Regions from separate parts of the Homo sapiens genome. Here regions 2 and 3 are each linked to region 1. The links are contacts of gene promoters, found by promoter capture Hi-C in blood cells and fetal thymus (Javierre and others, 2016). All regions are on one chromosome and are shown on one strand. Each heading gives the region's core, a stretch centred on a gene start or on the middle of the fragment in contact. The rest is flanking DNA. Distances are from core to core; before and after follow the strand shown.

What was found. Contacts are between HindIII fragments. The CHiCAGO score rates a contact against its expected background, and 5 or more counts as called.
Region 2: a contact is called between a fragment that was not itself captured here and the fragment with the promoter of TMF1 in region 1, in 4 of 17 cell types (non-activated CD4 T cells, activated CD4 T cells, naive B cells and 1 more). The highest score is 13.4, in non-activated CD4 T cells.
Region 3: a contact is called between a fragment that was not itself captured here and the fragment with the promoter of TMF1 in region 1, in 1 of 17 cell types (total CD8 T cells). The highest score is 8.3, in total CD8 T cells.

The regions. Positions count from the first base shown.
Region 1 is chr3:69,049,937-69,054,663 of GRCh38, reverse strand. It overlaps TMF1 (TATA element modulatory factor 1), which reads left to right and starts at 2,331. Exons shown (of 17, transcript NM_007114.3): 1 at 2,331-2,719. The coding sequence starts at 2,578. RefSeq lists an enhancer at 2,270-2,739. The HindIII fragment of the contact is 2,649 bases long and covers 2,093-4,727 here.
Region 2 is chr3:63,911,531-63,916,257 of GRCh38, reverse strand. It overlaps ATXN7 (ataxin 7), which reads right to left. Exons shown (of 13, transcript NM_001377405.1): 3 at 3,335-3,670; 4 at 3,033-3,101. The coding sequence starts at 3,659. It also overlaps SCAANT1. Among named protein-coding and RNA genes, the nearest start is that of ATXN7, 50 kb to the right of the region's middle. RefSeq lists a silencer at 3,357-4,196 and an enhancer at 4,527-4,606. The HindIII fragment of the contact is 2,350 bases long and covers 2,303-4,652 here.
Region 3 is chr3:64,006,624-64,011,350 of GRCh38, reverse strand. It overlaps PSMD6 (proteasome 26S subunit, non-ATPase 6), which reads left to right. Exons shown (of 8, transcript NM_014814.3): 7 at 396-473; 8 at 587-800. The coding sequence ends at 683. PSMD6-AS2 (PSMD6 antisense RNA 2) reads right to left here. Exons shown (of 3, transcript NR_038286.1): 2 at 1,598-1,654. Among named protein-coding and RNA genes, the nearest start is that of PSMD6-AS1, 3.0 kb to the left of the region's middle. The HindIII fragment of the contact is 1,783 bases long and covers 1,130-2,912 here.

The DNA of each region.
Region 1 (4,727 bases), core at 1,082-3,581:
AATTTTTAAATGTGTAGCAGAGTTATATCAAATTTTTATTGCACTTAATACTTTTGCTACAGCAATTTCTATAGTAAAAATTTACTGGTTTAATTTAACTTTCTGTATCAATATAATTTTTTTTTTTTTTTTTTTTGCGACAGAGTTTCGCTCTTGTTGCCCAGGCTGGAGTGCGATGATGCAACCTCAGCTCACTGCAACCTCTGCCTCCCCGGTTCAGGCAATTCTCCTGCCTCAGCCTCCGGAGTAACTGGGATTACAGGCGCCTGCCACCATGCACGGCTAATTTTTTGTATTTTTAGTAGGGACGGGGTTTCACCACGTTGGCCAGGCTGGTCTCAAACTCCTGACCTCAGGTGATCCACCCCCCCCCGCCCCCCTCGGCTTCCCAAAGTGCTGGGATTACAGGCATGAGCCACCATGCCTGACCATGTTTTTGTTTCTTTTAAGTGAATAAAACTTCAAACAAAATTAAGTACAAATACTAAAAAAGTAGGTGCTAGTATTTTAATATGAGAACATGTATGTGTTCTCATTCTTTGTTTTTGACTTAGATATGGCAGTTTTCTGTTCAAATGTTTTTTGGTTACTTATGTGTCACTGAGTTAAGTTTTCAGTAATCTTTCTAGCTACATATTGACAAATAAGTTTTATTATAAAACCATACGGAATAAATTTATAAGCTCTACCTGAAAAGTTACAGGTGTAGCTTACAATTTTGAAAGTGAAGGAACTAAAATTTAGCACCATATAGGTGCTATAATAATTCTCAAAGTAGCATTGTAAGAAGGTGACTCTATCTGAGAGCTGAATAAATAGTTTTAGATGGTTTAGGTAGGTCATTTCACCAAAGCTGTACAATTAGAAGTCTTGGAACTGTAACTGTACAGCTAATTTCAACCCGAATCTGCCCCAAATCTCCTCTGCAGACTACTTAGCTGTTTGAAAGTACTTGAGTTACTTGGTACTACTTGTGTACATGACTAAATTGTTAGTTTTAACATGCAAGTTTTTACTGTAGTTAGATAAAATTATTGGAAGATGATTATAACTTCTTAAGGGGTTCAATCTGATTTTTTAAAAGAAAAATAATTCTTTTTTGCAGAGTTCCTTGCAGTGGGGTAAAATATTCAAATATGGGAGGCAGGCATATAAGGTAAATAATCACAGCAGGGAGGGTGTAATAGGATGAGTGATAGGGGTCTGTGGCAAACTGGAGTGAGTGAAAATTATTTGGTGACCACTCTGGCTGACTATTCCCATGCTTGGTATTCATATTTTTCAAAAGCAGCTGGAAATCTAGATTTTTGAATGAAATCTGGCTTTTAGTTAGGATTTTGTCTTTAACTTGGGCCCAAACCAAATATAGCTGCAGACTGGATTAGGAAGGCCACCAATTTAAGGTATTTTCCCATGTCCAAATGTTCGAAGAGAATGCACACAGAAAAGGTTATGTTTTAAGTAATATGCACAGTGCACATTGTTAGGATAACAGCTTTAGTGCTTCCTAGGTGTCTTAGTCCATTTGGACTGCTGTAACAAATTGCCATAAACTGGGTGGCTTATAAGCAGTAGCAATTTGTTTCTTAACAGTTCTAGAGGCTGAGAAGTCCAAGATAAGGAGCCGGCAGATTTGGTGTCTGGTGAGGGCTGCTATTCTGGCTTAGAGTTGGTGCCTTCTTGCCGTGAGCTCCCTTGGGCCTCTCTTATAAGGGCACTAACCCCATTTATGAGGGCTCCATCATCATCTAATCATCTCCTAAAGGCTCCCCTTAATACTGTCCCATTGGAGATTAGGTTTCAACATAGGAATTTGTGCAGGGGACACCGACAGACCACAGTATTAGGGGTATTTTGACTGCAGCAATGAGTTTACTACTATTTTGAGAGAGAGGTTGTGCTTTATGCACCATGTGTTCCACGAGTTGGACACAGTGTTCATACGTGATCCTGTCTTTTAGGCAAGCCCAAACAAGTGTTTCTCCTTACAATACCAAGTTAATACAGAGCTTATTAAATATTTGAGACAAAGGGCTAAGAGAAGTGTGAGGCCCAATTTCCCTTTGCAATTATTGCTGGCAAGGTGCAAGCTTTTAGCACGTGAACTATTTTCCTGGAAAGCACACACACGAAAACTTGAATATTCCTTCCGGGGAAATCGACCTCTATCGGTAGCCATAGCTTCCCCTTCGCTAAGAACTGCTGTAAGCACGAAATCGACATCAATAGAAACCCTTCCGCGTTCCTCGGTAACTAACGGCAACCCTGCGCTCCCGGATGTGACGTCAACGTTCTTCTGTTCTTCCGTCTGTCGACCGAACTCTGGGCTCGTAGATTTGGTTGCTGTGTACGTGGAAGAAGCAAGCGCATGCGCACATGGGCCCCCTTCGTCTCAGCTGTGCGGGAACGGCCGAGGGTAACATCCCGGGCTCGCGGGAGGCTGTCGGGGTAATGGCCACACGCTGACAGAACCAGCCGAGTGGAAAAGGGGAGCGAAGCCGTTCCTCTGCACCCTTCCCCAGGCCTGAGGCCTTCCCGCTTGGTGCTGCCGCCGCCACTGCCGGCTGAGGAGGGGCGATGAGTTGGTTCAACGCCTCCCAGCTCTCCAGCTTCGCTAAGCAGGCCCTGTCCCAGGCCCAGAAGTCTATTGACAGGGTTCTGGACATCCAGGAAGAGGAGCCGAGCATCTGGGCCGAGACCATTCCGTATGGAGAGCCGGGTAAGAGAGAGAGGAGCGGGGTTCCTGGCTCCCGGAGGCTGCTGTTCTCTTGATGCAGGCAGGTTAAGTGGTGTAGAGAGGGGTCCTTCCTTGCTGAGAGAGTTTTCAGGAAGTAATTTCTCCCCGGCCCGTTCCCTAATGCTGCTTCAGCCTCCAAGTCGGTCTTTGCTGTTTTCCTGAGGGAAAACCCAGATCCAGGTTCCCCCTTGTCTTTCTTTGGTCCTGGGTGCGAGGCTTGTGGACTTGGATGACAGGGGACTTGGTTGGTTGGTCTTGCCCTCAAGCTCTCCCTCGACGCAGCTTCCAAGCACAACCTTCCCGAACCTGAACCTCGAATTGCTTCGCGTCTCGGGCACTGTTGGGATCCAAGGTCTGAAGTACGTAAATCATCAGGGAAGGGAAGAACAATCGCTAACAGTCAGTGAACATTTCGCGCTTGGTAGCGCGTAATGTGGTTTTATGTTGTTGTTGAGACGGAGTCTCACTCCGTCGCCCAGGCTGGAGTGCAGTGGCGCGATCTCGGCTCACTGCAACCTCCGCCTCCCAGGTTCTAGCGATTCTCCTTCCCCAGCCTCCCTAGTAGCTGGGATTACAGGCGCCCACCACCACGCCCGGCAACTTTTTGTATTTTTAGTAGGGACGGGGTTTCACTATGTTGGCCAGGCTGGTGGAACTCCTGACTTAAGGCGATCCACCCACCTCGGCCTCCTAAAGTGCTGGGATTACAGGCACGAGCCTGTAATGTGCTTTTTTATGGCCTTCTCATCTTCAGAACAACTCCCAGAGAGAGCTTGGTTTATATCCGTGTTTTACATAAGAGGAAAATGAGGCCCAGAATGGCCAAGTAACTTGCTCTAGGTCACACGGCGGAGGAGGATTAGAATGTGCCGGAGGTATTAGCCGGAAAATGTGTGACCCAAGATTTCTGGATGGTATCACATTTTATTTCTGAATAGCCAAGTCTCTCTTTGCAGTTTCATTGAGCTTAATCTTTCAGGGATCTTCATTCAGTTGCTTTTGACTCTTAAGTCTAAGGAACAGTTCAGCATTTGATGTGTGGGGTAAAGATTTGCTGGTGTTGGGGGATGTGAACCTTTGTGTGAAAAAGGATAAGAGATGTACTTGACTACTCCTTTCTGGTTTCTGTTCTTAATTTTACATCATTGAAAAGTCAGGACCTAAATTTGAGGTACCTCAGTTTAAGATATTTTGGTCCATGTGTGTATGTGATGATCCTCTTTACTTTTTACAAGATGTCATATAACCTTGCTGGAGTAACTCTGTTTTTTCATATGTGCCCCAGTTAATTAGAATTACTAAACTTTAGATAAGATAGAATATAGGTTTTACATATAAGGATATTTGTTTTCGGAAAATGCCCATAGTCTTCAGAATGGTATAATTTAGATGGATACCAAATAACCCTGGGATTATATAAAGTATTCTCCAAGAGGCAAAATTAATTCCTGTCATCTTTTGAATGTATTTAAATTAATCAGACATAATCTTGGTTGTTCATTTGCATATTTAATTTTGATTTTCTCTGGTTTGGATATTGTGCAAATGAATGTGTAGAACTATGCCTCCAAACTGAAGTTTTCTACATACTTTTCATCCTAACTGCCTTTGAAGTCATACATATATTTACATATATATATATTTGTTTTTTTGTTTTTTTTTTTTTTGAGACACAGTCTCACTCTGTCATCCAGGCTGGAGTGCAGTGGTGCCATCTCTGTTCACTGCAGATTCTGTCTCCTGAGCTCAAGTGATTCTCGTGCCTCAACCTCCCGAGTAGCTGGGATTGCAGGTTTGCGTCACCACACCTGCCTAATTTTTGTAATTTTAGTAGAGACAGGGTTTTACCATGTTGGCCAGGCTGGTCTTGAACTCCTGACCTCAGGTGGTCCGCCCGCCTCGGCCTCCCAAAGTGCTGAGATTACAAGCGTGAGCCACTGCGCCTGGCCTGAAGTCATATTAAAGGATAGATTCTACTATAAGGCTTGAT
Region 2 (4,727 bases), core at 2,228-4,727, 5.1 Mb after region 1:
TTATCAACAGTTGAAAGAGTTAAAAGGAATTAGTGTGTACTGAGTCATTCACATATTATCTAATTTAATTTCAGCTCCTACAATAACCTTGGGAAGTAGGTAGTATTATCTTCCAAAGAGGGAAAGTATATTCAGAAAGATGAAATAACTAATGCAAGGTTAAGCAGCTTTCTCTCACATCCAGGCTTTCTAACCCCTAGGTCCAAAATTGCACATTGGAGAATTCAAGTCAAGTGCATATTCCTAGAGATATTTCAAGATGAGGAGTTTCTGGCGGGGGTGGTGGTTCATGCCTGTAATCCCAGCACTTCGTGGAGGCTGAGGCGGGTGGATCACCTGAGGTCAGGAGCTTCAGACCAGACTGACTAACATGGTGAATGAAACTCCATCTCTATAAAAAATACAAAAATTAGCCAGGTGTGGTGGTGCGTGCCTGTAATCCCAGCTACAAGGGAGGATGAGTCCAGAGAATCGCTTGAACCCAGGAAGCAGAGGTTGCAGTGAGCCGAGAACTTGCCACTGCACTCCAGCCTGGGTAACAGTCAGACACCGTCTCAAAAAAAAAAAAAAATAAATAAAGGGTCATTTCTGACTTCCAGTGATTCACTCACATGATCAATTTATCTACATATTTCTTCAATTTAACAAGAGGAATCAGTATGGATTCAACTTCAAAACATCTTTTCTTGGTAGCTGATAATTTTAAGCAGACAATGAATGAATAATAGTCTAATAAGTTTTGATAATATTAAATGTATTTTCATTTCTGAAGCAGCCTACAATGGTCTGTTAGGAGAACATAAAGGTCCACTGAGTGAGTGCTGAACATCCTCAAACTTGGATTTTAAAATATCCCCACATAATCCGCAAAGTCACAAACAAATGAAGAACTGACTGAATTTAAAACTTCGGTCTCAACTCAGACAGGTGTACGTTCCAAGTGGCCTGGTAGCTACAGCATCCTCTAAATGGTTAGAACAACTTTAAAAGGGGGAGGAGGGGAACCCTTAAAAAACACTAACAAGGGCCAGGCGGTGGCTCACACCTGTAATCCCAGCACTTTGGGAGGCCGAGGCAGGTGGGTCACGAGGTTAGGAGATTGAGACCATCGTGGCCAACGTGGTGAAACCTCCTCTCTACTAAAACACAAAAAATTAGCTGGGTGTGGTGGCCCGCCGCCTGCAGTCCCAGCTACTCGGGAGGCTGAGGCAGGAGAATCGCTTGAACCTGGGAGGTGGAGGTTGCACTGAGGAGGTGGAGGTTGCACTGAGCCAAGATCGCACCACTGCACTCCAGCATGGCCACAGAGTGAGACTCCGTCTCAAAAAACAAAACAAAACACTAACAAGATCCATGTCCCTTTTGTGCCTCAAGTAGGTAGTTTAACGTCTTAGTTCTTCATGAAAAACATGCTGATAAAAGTATCCCAACAGAAAATAATATATCTAGCAAAAATGAGGTACAGTCCCCTTAATTTGGTTGGGTCCCTGTCCAGCTCAAGGTACCCACTGAAACATTAATACACTTAACTCATCCTTTACAGCAGAATTATTGATAATTACAATCTTGTTTTCACACAGATTTAGAAACGTTTTATAGGATATGTATCCACACCCAGAGAATGAAAACTAAGAACAAGAGTAGGTCAGGTCCTCTAAAGTTCTACTCTAACTGCTTACTGTGAGAGTTGCCACCTAGTGATTTTAATTTTTTAAGCCCAGGCAGGCTGCCAATTCAGCACTAAAACCGGACTAGCAACTGATTTTTCATATTGCAACATCATCAACAAGTCCTGTGCTTTCCCTTGCTTTCCTTTACCCTCAAATAGCAATTCTCATTTTAAAAATCAACTAATTTGTTCTATAATCTGTTCCAATTGGAAGCTCTCATCGGGCTGTCACTGGTATTACTCTTCCTCCGAGTGCCAAGAGGCCAAAAAGCGCCCAATTCAAAAAAACCGAAACAGAGTTAAGTGAAGAAAAAGCAGGTGTGAAAAGCGAGAAGGAAATGTGAAGACAGTAACAATGGGCAAACTTTGGACTTAAAAATGTTCCAGTTGCCAAAGTTCTACCTATCCTTGGGCCATAGACAACAATTCTGCAAAATAAATGGCTACGAGTGAGAAATAAAATTGCATTCGGGGACTATAAACTCAGTATTCCGGGGCCAAACCTCACTCAAAGCCTTGTCCTAACTCACTGAAAGAATAACTTGAAACTGAACCCGAAGTTCACTGGACTTCAGAAGTCCTTTCTGACCACGGTATGCCCAGGCCTAGTGCAGGTATTAGACAACAAAAGCTTACTATTCAAAGAAAAAGAAAATCTCAAGAAAAAGTCTGACACTTTCCAGATACCTGGCCTGACTTTCATTTGGAGGCATACCCTATTTCCCTAGTGTATCTTTTTACCAAACAGTTTAAAACTAACAAATAATTAGACCCTGATTTCACCAGCCACGGGCAGTAAAGGCTTATTTGACCAAATAAAATTCTGGCTTTCTTTCCCCCGTGATATTGGCAGCTCGCAAAAAATCTGACCAAAATGCACTCCGGGTTATGATGACCTTTTTCTAACATCCCCAACTTGTACCTTAAATCCTACAGAAATAAGACTGCATAGGTAAAGCATCTTCTTTAAGTTCAAAATTCGTTTCGATTGCCAACAGAAAATGTCCCCTAAGCATTCGTGGAAAGGTTTCAAAGCTGAGAATTCCTTCCTCTACTCCTGTTTCTCCGTAAGGAGGTCAGAAATGCAGAGATCTAGGTTAAACTTCCCGCCGGTTCCCAGCGCTCATCACCAATAATGCTGCTCCTGCCTGGTCACAGAAGGATTCCGGACGCTCTCATTACAGGAGGCCCCCAAACCAAACTTTCCAAGCGCTCTGCCCCCTCCCTCCCTCCTCAGGCAGCATCTTCGCAGGCACGGGGAGTCGGGGAGTCGGTATGGTGGGCTGATGTTCCCGGTCCCAGTGAACTGTCAATGAAACTTCCCAGGGGTTTGTACAAACTCCATCAGGGGGGCTGGACTCACCTTCCCGACAGAGCCCCATGACTTCGCGGTTTTTCCCAAACTCCTTGAAACTTTCGTCCAATTCTGTCCCTAGGAGATATACACACACAGGAGGAGGGGAGAGGCAGGTCAGTGGCCAGGAGTGTGACGCACACTCACGCACGCACGGGGTAGGTGTGGGCACCTCCGCGTTCCGCAACCCAGCAAACGATAGCATCTCTGCCCCTCGAGGGGGCGGGTCACAGGAGGGGGGCAGGGGGGAGGGGAGGAGAGAGGAGGGGGTCGCGAGGGGGTGAAGGGGGGAGGAGGGCGTGGACACTCACCGTCCTTCCCAGGAAGTTTGGAAGCCTCAACCCACAGATTCCACGACTGTCCCAGCATCACTTCAGGACTGGGCAGAGGCCTGCGCTCCCCGACCGTCGCCATTGCGGCGGCCGAGGTGGAGGCGGCGCCGGGCCCGCCGTCCTCCGGCCGTGTGCGCCGTGGCGGCGGTGGCGGGTGCTGCTGCCGCTGGGGCTGCGGAGGCGGCGGCTGCTGCTGCTGCTGCTGCTGCTGCTGCTGCCGGGCGGCCGCGGCCGCTGCTCCGCCCGCCGCCGCCGCCGCGCGGCGCGGCTCCCCCCTGACGTCATCCGCGGCCCGCTCCGACATTCTTTCCGCTCCTACAATGTAACAAAAAAAAGGGGGAAAGAGTCGCGCGGGGGCCGTTTTTTAAGGAGGCGCCAGGGAGTTCCGGCGGCGTGCGCGGCCCGCGGACCGGGTGGGGCACGCTGACAGCGCCCCCATGGCCGCCCAGCCCCCCGAGCCCGCCTCCTCAAGGCCACCCCCCGCCCCGGGCTCAAAGTCCGCGGCGCGGGCTAGCTTTCGCTTTCGACTCCCGCGGCCGCCCGAGGGAGGGGACGGGCAGCAGGCGGCCCGCCACCGCGGCGCTGGGTCCCCTGCCTGCTTCTGCTCAGAGGACCTGGCGCGGAGGCCAGCGCCGGAGCGGCCCGGCTCCAACCCCGCGCCCCACCATGGCAGCCCGCGCGGGGAAGCCCGAGCCGCACCCCAGGACCTCCAGCTGCCCACCCTTCGGCCGCTTGCATCCCCGGGCCCGGCCCGGCTGCCCCGCTCCTTCCTTCCGTCCGCGCGTCCGTCCGAGCGGCGGCACCCGGCCGGCTCCCTTAAGCGGAGACGCCTCCCGCCGCCTCCTCCCACTTGCCGGTCCCTCCCTCTCAGCTCGCTCCGGCGAAGTTTGCACGTCAAGCCCCCGGACTGGAGCCAGGGCGAAGTCGGAAATGCAGCCACCTATGGAGGAGCCGGCCGGCCGGCCCCAGGGCAGCGCGGGAGAGGCTGGTGCAGGGGGCACTTTGCCCTCGGCTTGCGGGCGGCCGCAGAGTTGTCAAAAGCATGAATGGGAAGCCGCCGCAGAGCGGACTCCGGGCGTGCAGGGAACCTTGGGCTAGCGGGGAAGTGCCTCCCAGGTGTCTGCCCAGGTGTCAGGACGAAGTACCGTGTGCACGCCACGCCGCCCACATGTGTGCCCCCGACCCGCAATTGGAAGTCACACTGTGCGCCTGGGGAACTTGAATTCGTCCAGCAAAGAGAGAACATGAGATCAGTGTGCGAGGGAATGGAGGAGAGTGAAACAAACCGAGAGAAGCTTTAACCCGTGTACATATTTTAGAGGCACCACCCCAAGTTTCTGGAAGTGATTCATTCACCCCAAAAGTAAAAATC
Region 3 (4,727 bases), core at 772-3,271, 5.0 Mb after region 1:
GACATGTTAATACTATTGCTGTTGACATGTTTACTGATGGGCTGTGTTCCATAATTTTGTTTTAGGTCTTTTGTTTGAAACAGTTTACTGTTTTTATCAGTTTTGGTCCCTAATTTTTCCTAACCTACAGTTTTTCTCTGAGTACATATGGTTTCATTGTTTGATCTACTTTCTATCTATCTGAATATGAACTTCTAGGATCATGTTTATTCTAGTAGATGATGACTTAAAGCCTGCAGTATAGGAGGGACAACGTCAACTACTGCATGTGCAATAACAAGCTTGAAGGGAAGCTAAATGTTTGTTACAAATTTAAGACAGTATTTTAATGCCGTTTGCATTTTTCTAAGAATTTTCTATAAAGCTAATTCTGTTATTTTTTGTCTCTAAATTAGGGAACTGTCCAGGTTTATTGCTGCCGGGAGACTACACTGCAAAATAGATAAAGTGAATGAAATAGTAGAAACCAACAGGTACTCTCATTTCTCAGAATAAGGGGCATTCCTAAATTTTAAAAGTAGGTCAACTATTGTCATGGAATAATGTGACTGGTAAATAATTCATTTTTTCTTGAATTTATTTATAGACCTGATAGCAAGAACTGGCAGTACCAAGAAACTATCAAGAAAGGAGATCTGCTACTAAACAGAGTTCAAAAACTTTCCAGAGTAATTAATATGTAAAGCCATGTAACTAACAAAGGATTTGCTTTAGAGATAATTATTTGGAATTTTTATAGCTTACTTCACAATGTGCCCAGGTCAGCTGTATAAAATAAATACTGCATTGTTGTTTCTTTCCATTTATTTTTTTCTTAAACACATAGGCCTTCTAGAATCGGGTCCACTTATGTTAAAATAATGTCACTTGAATTATTCATTAATGAAAATCTGGTTTATAGGGTAAGGTTGCAGCTGGGTTCAGCTAGGTTCAGCTCCTGACTGCCTCATCAGTAAAATACGTCAGTAAAATACGGATGTTGACACAGCCCATTATCGCTTACCTTTAAATCTCTTACCTGTAAGCTTCCCGATTTTAGAAAGAAGAGTAGTGGCCTAAAATTAAACAAACAGTGTCTCCCACTTTTAGTATACAAAAGATAGAAGATAAAGAAAATGTGTAATAAGCTTTCCCTCAGAAACAAGTAACCATATAAGGCAGGAAGTTACTCTTTTTTAGGAAGCTGACATAACCTGGATTACAGAATCTACCAAGGCTGATCTCAGTTTTCTAAAACCTTATATGTAAGTATTTATTAGCAAACTGAATCTTTTTTCCAAAAGTAGGACCATAGTAATAATAGCAGTGAGGAAAACAAAGTTGTTCCTCTGTTTGTTTGAAACAGTTTATTAGTTTTATCAGTTTTATTCAGTGTGTCAGATAGGAATAAGTGCTATAAGAAGTATAAAACCAGATAGACAGACAGATAGATAGATAGATAGATAGAGATACAGGGTATAGGCCGTCTTCTGAGGTGTTGTGGAAGGCTTCTATGGTAAGGTGACATTTAAGTGAAAAGGAGGGAGAGCCCATGAACGTATGGAGGGAAGAAAGACGAGGAAAGTCACTGGCAATTTTAAGTGCGGATTTGGCTTACCTTTTACGTCTCACTTACGGCATTCGGTGGCATGGATTGTACAGGCAGCTGGATTTGCTAAAAGATTGAAGAATGGGGTGAGGAGGATGAGGGGGAGAAAATTTGTCAGAGGAGATCCTAGGCTTTTTGGCTTAAGTGAAAGACAGCTAGTGACCTTAATGAGCAGTTTTGGTAGAGGTGAGTTCAGAAGAGAATGGGAAATGGCATTTTACTGTAAAAGGCAAGGGAAGGAAAGAAGAGTTTTGAGTTTTTTTGCTTTAAATAACATTTACTGATGGGAATGATTCCTGTTAACATATTAGGAATAACATATTCCTAATATGGAATTCCTAACAGGAATAACATACTCCTGTTAACATGATCTCATTTGATTGAAAATAATTTGATATAATTCAACATTTCTTCATGATAAAAAAACTCTTCAGTAGACTATGAATAATAGGTTGGGATATCAAAGCCCTATCACAAGGTAATTAATGGCAAAATATTAGAAGCATTATCTTAAAAGTGAAGACAGCAGCTCTCATCGCTGGAAGAAGAGCCATTGGTTGTATGCCAAGGAAAGCAATGTGGCTAGATCTCTGTTTTGAAAGGAGTTTCCTGTAGGCACTGTATTGTGGAGGGGAGGCTTTTAAAATGCTGACTATGCCTAATGTATTTGAGAATATCCACCTATGAATTTCTAAAAATGCTTATCTAGAAAACATTTCTTAAAGGAAAAAAACCTCAGCTTTTTGGTTTTCTACAGAAAACCAAAGCTAGTCAGGAATGCAAAGGTGGCTTCTGAATGCTACAGAGTTGCAGTTGTTCACCCACAGGCGGCAATTGACACACCCTAAATACTTTTCCAAGAAAAAAATTTATAGTTACCACGTAAAAGTTGACAGTTTAAAAACCACATATCTAGCTTCTCTGGAAAAAGGACAGGTGAAGCTAAATCTGGACTCACGCTCCAATAAGCTGAGCGACAAGCATAGCGTGTTTTCCAGTGTGCCCCAGTCCACCCAGTCTGTTCATATACACTGCCTGTCTGCCTGGCCCCTGCTGGCATTTGAGCTTGTTATCCCTGCACTACCCCCAATATTGTGCATGTGAGGTTGATGGTTAACAGCCTCCTGTGTTAATCAACTAAGACAGGGGTGTCCCATCTTTTGGCTTCCCTGGGCCACACTGGAAGAATTGTCTTGGGTGACACAAAATACGCTAAGGATAGCTGATGAGCTCAAAACAAAACAGCTCATAATGTTTTAAGAAAACTTACAAATGTGTGTTGGGCCACATTCAAAGCTGTTGTGGGCTCTGGGTTGGACAAGCTTGAGCTAGGAGAAACTATCCAAAGAATTCCTAACCTTTATCCTGTCTCTAGTAGCTTTAACTGGTACAGCTTGTTTTCTGAAAGTCTTAATTTTCTGCTTTTATTCAAGAAGGTTACTTCACAATATGAAAATAAGATTATGAAATGATGCTAAAACAGTTATACATAGTTCCTTTTTCATGTTGGTAAATGTTTTCTTTTGAAGTGGGAAACAATCTTATTTTTAACCCTGGTTTCAGTCAAAAGTAACTATCCTAGTGTGAAATGATATCGCCAGGATAAACTATCTTTTGTGATTATTTTTAAAGCAGAAATGCCAGTTTCTCTTACCTCAGTAAAAGTTGATTTTATAGCAAATCTATCGAGTAAGAGCTAAATATTTTAAAGCTATGTCAAATTATGGTAATCTATTTCCTGTATTAGAAATAACAGCTTTAGGTCAATTTTTAAGCTATTAAAAAACAGTGTCTCTTAGGACAGAAACAGTGTAAAAACCACTTTTGTTAAGCACCCAACTTTTACCTGCCCCAGATGGCTAGAAGGATGCCTACAACTTGATCACTAAGCATGCAATACTCAATACACTTAGGATTTTGTGACTGAACACATTTGGTCTTTTATAACCTGACCAAACATTAACTGATAAAAGGCTACTAAATCATTAGCAAATCATTTCTGTAATTTCATATTCTGAATTAGTCCTTGGTGCTGCTGTTAACCTAATGTTTTTAAGATGAACAGCTGACAGCTGAAATATCTGCCCCCATGATTATGGGGGAAAAAGCGTGGAGGGAACTATGATAATCCCTGACCTTCCCAATGCTACATAAACTTGTAGTTGCTGGTAACAAACCTGTGCCTCCACAATGGCAATGGGGGAGTGGGGTAAAATCCCCATCTGGATAACATGAAAAGCTCTGATAATCACTAGTTTTGGTTTCAAAGCTGTAGAGCCACAGATTTGCATTATGCTTGTGTTTCTGAAGGAATACAAAGGCTATCAGGAATTTGTAGCAATCTGATCCAGGCCATTTTAACCTTGACATACATGGTCAAAGGGTATAACCTTTTTTTTTTTTTTTTTTTTTTCCCCATTTAAAAATATCTTACAGTGGCATAACTTTCCCTGTACAAATTGGGTTTAAGAAACAAAAGGGACAATTTGCTAATCAATGATGAGCCTTTAATCCAACCATTATATATCCCCTTTCCATCCTTAGATCCCTTGAAGAGACCATTTAGTTAAGACTACCAACAGGTGACACCCTGACCTCCTTACCAACCTTGCCTTTTAGAGGTGACCAGAGACCTGTGCTTTTCCAAAGTACTGTTATACGTGTAATTAGTATAATATCAATGTGGGGAAACTCTACCTTTGGATTTTGAGGACTCTGCTTTTCTTGAAACCCTCTGGGTTAGAGACTGTTTATTCATATGCACCTCAGGAACTTGAGGCCAAGATGAAGTTCACTGTTTCCTAGTCCTTTGCTTGTTCTCCTGGCCATTATGTTTCCACCTTCATTCAAAATGCCTTCTCTTTGAAGCTGCTTATAACCCAGCAACACCATCAACTCACTGTGCTCACTGTCCTCAATCACACATCTCCAAGTCACTCTCCCCTCTTCCATGCAAATCATCCCAGAACCAAGCAACCCTAATTTGAAATGGACAACCTATACAACACCCTTGGCTTCACAGTTCCTCAGCCTGAATTCCAGTGCTCTTTTCCTCCATGCTGCTTCTGTCCACTGCCATGGTTTCCACCCAGGAATCACAAGCACCTCTGGCCAGTTCTGCTTTTGAAAATAATACTGG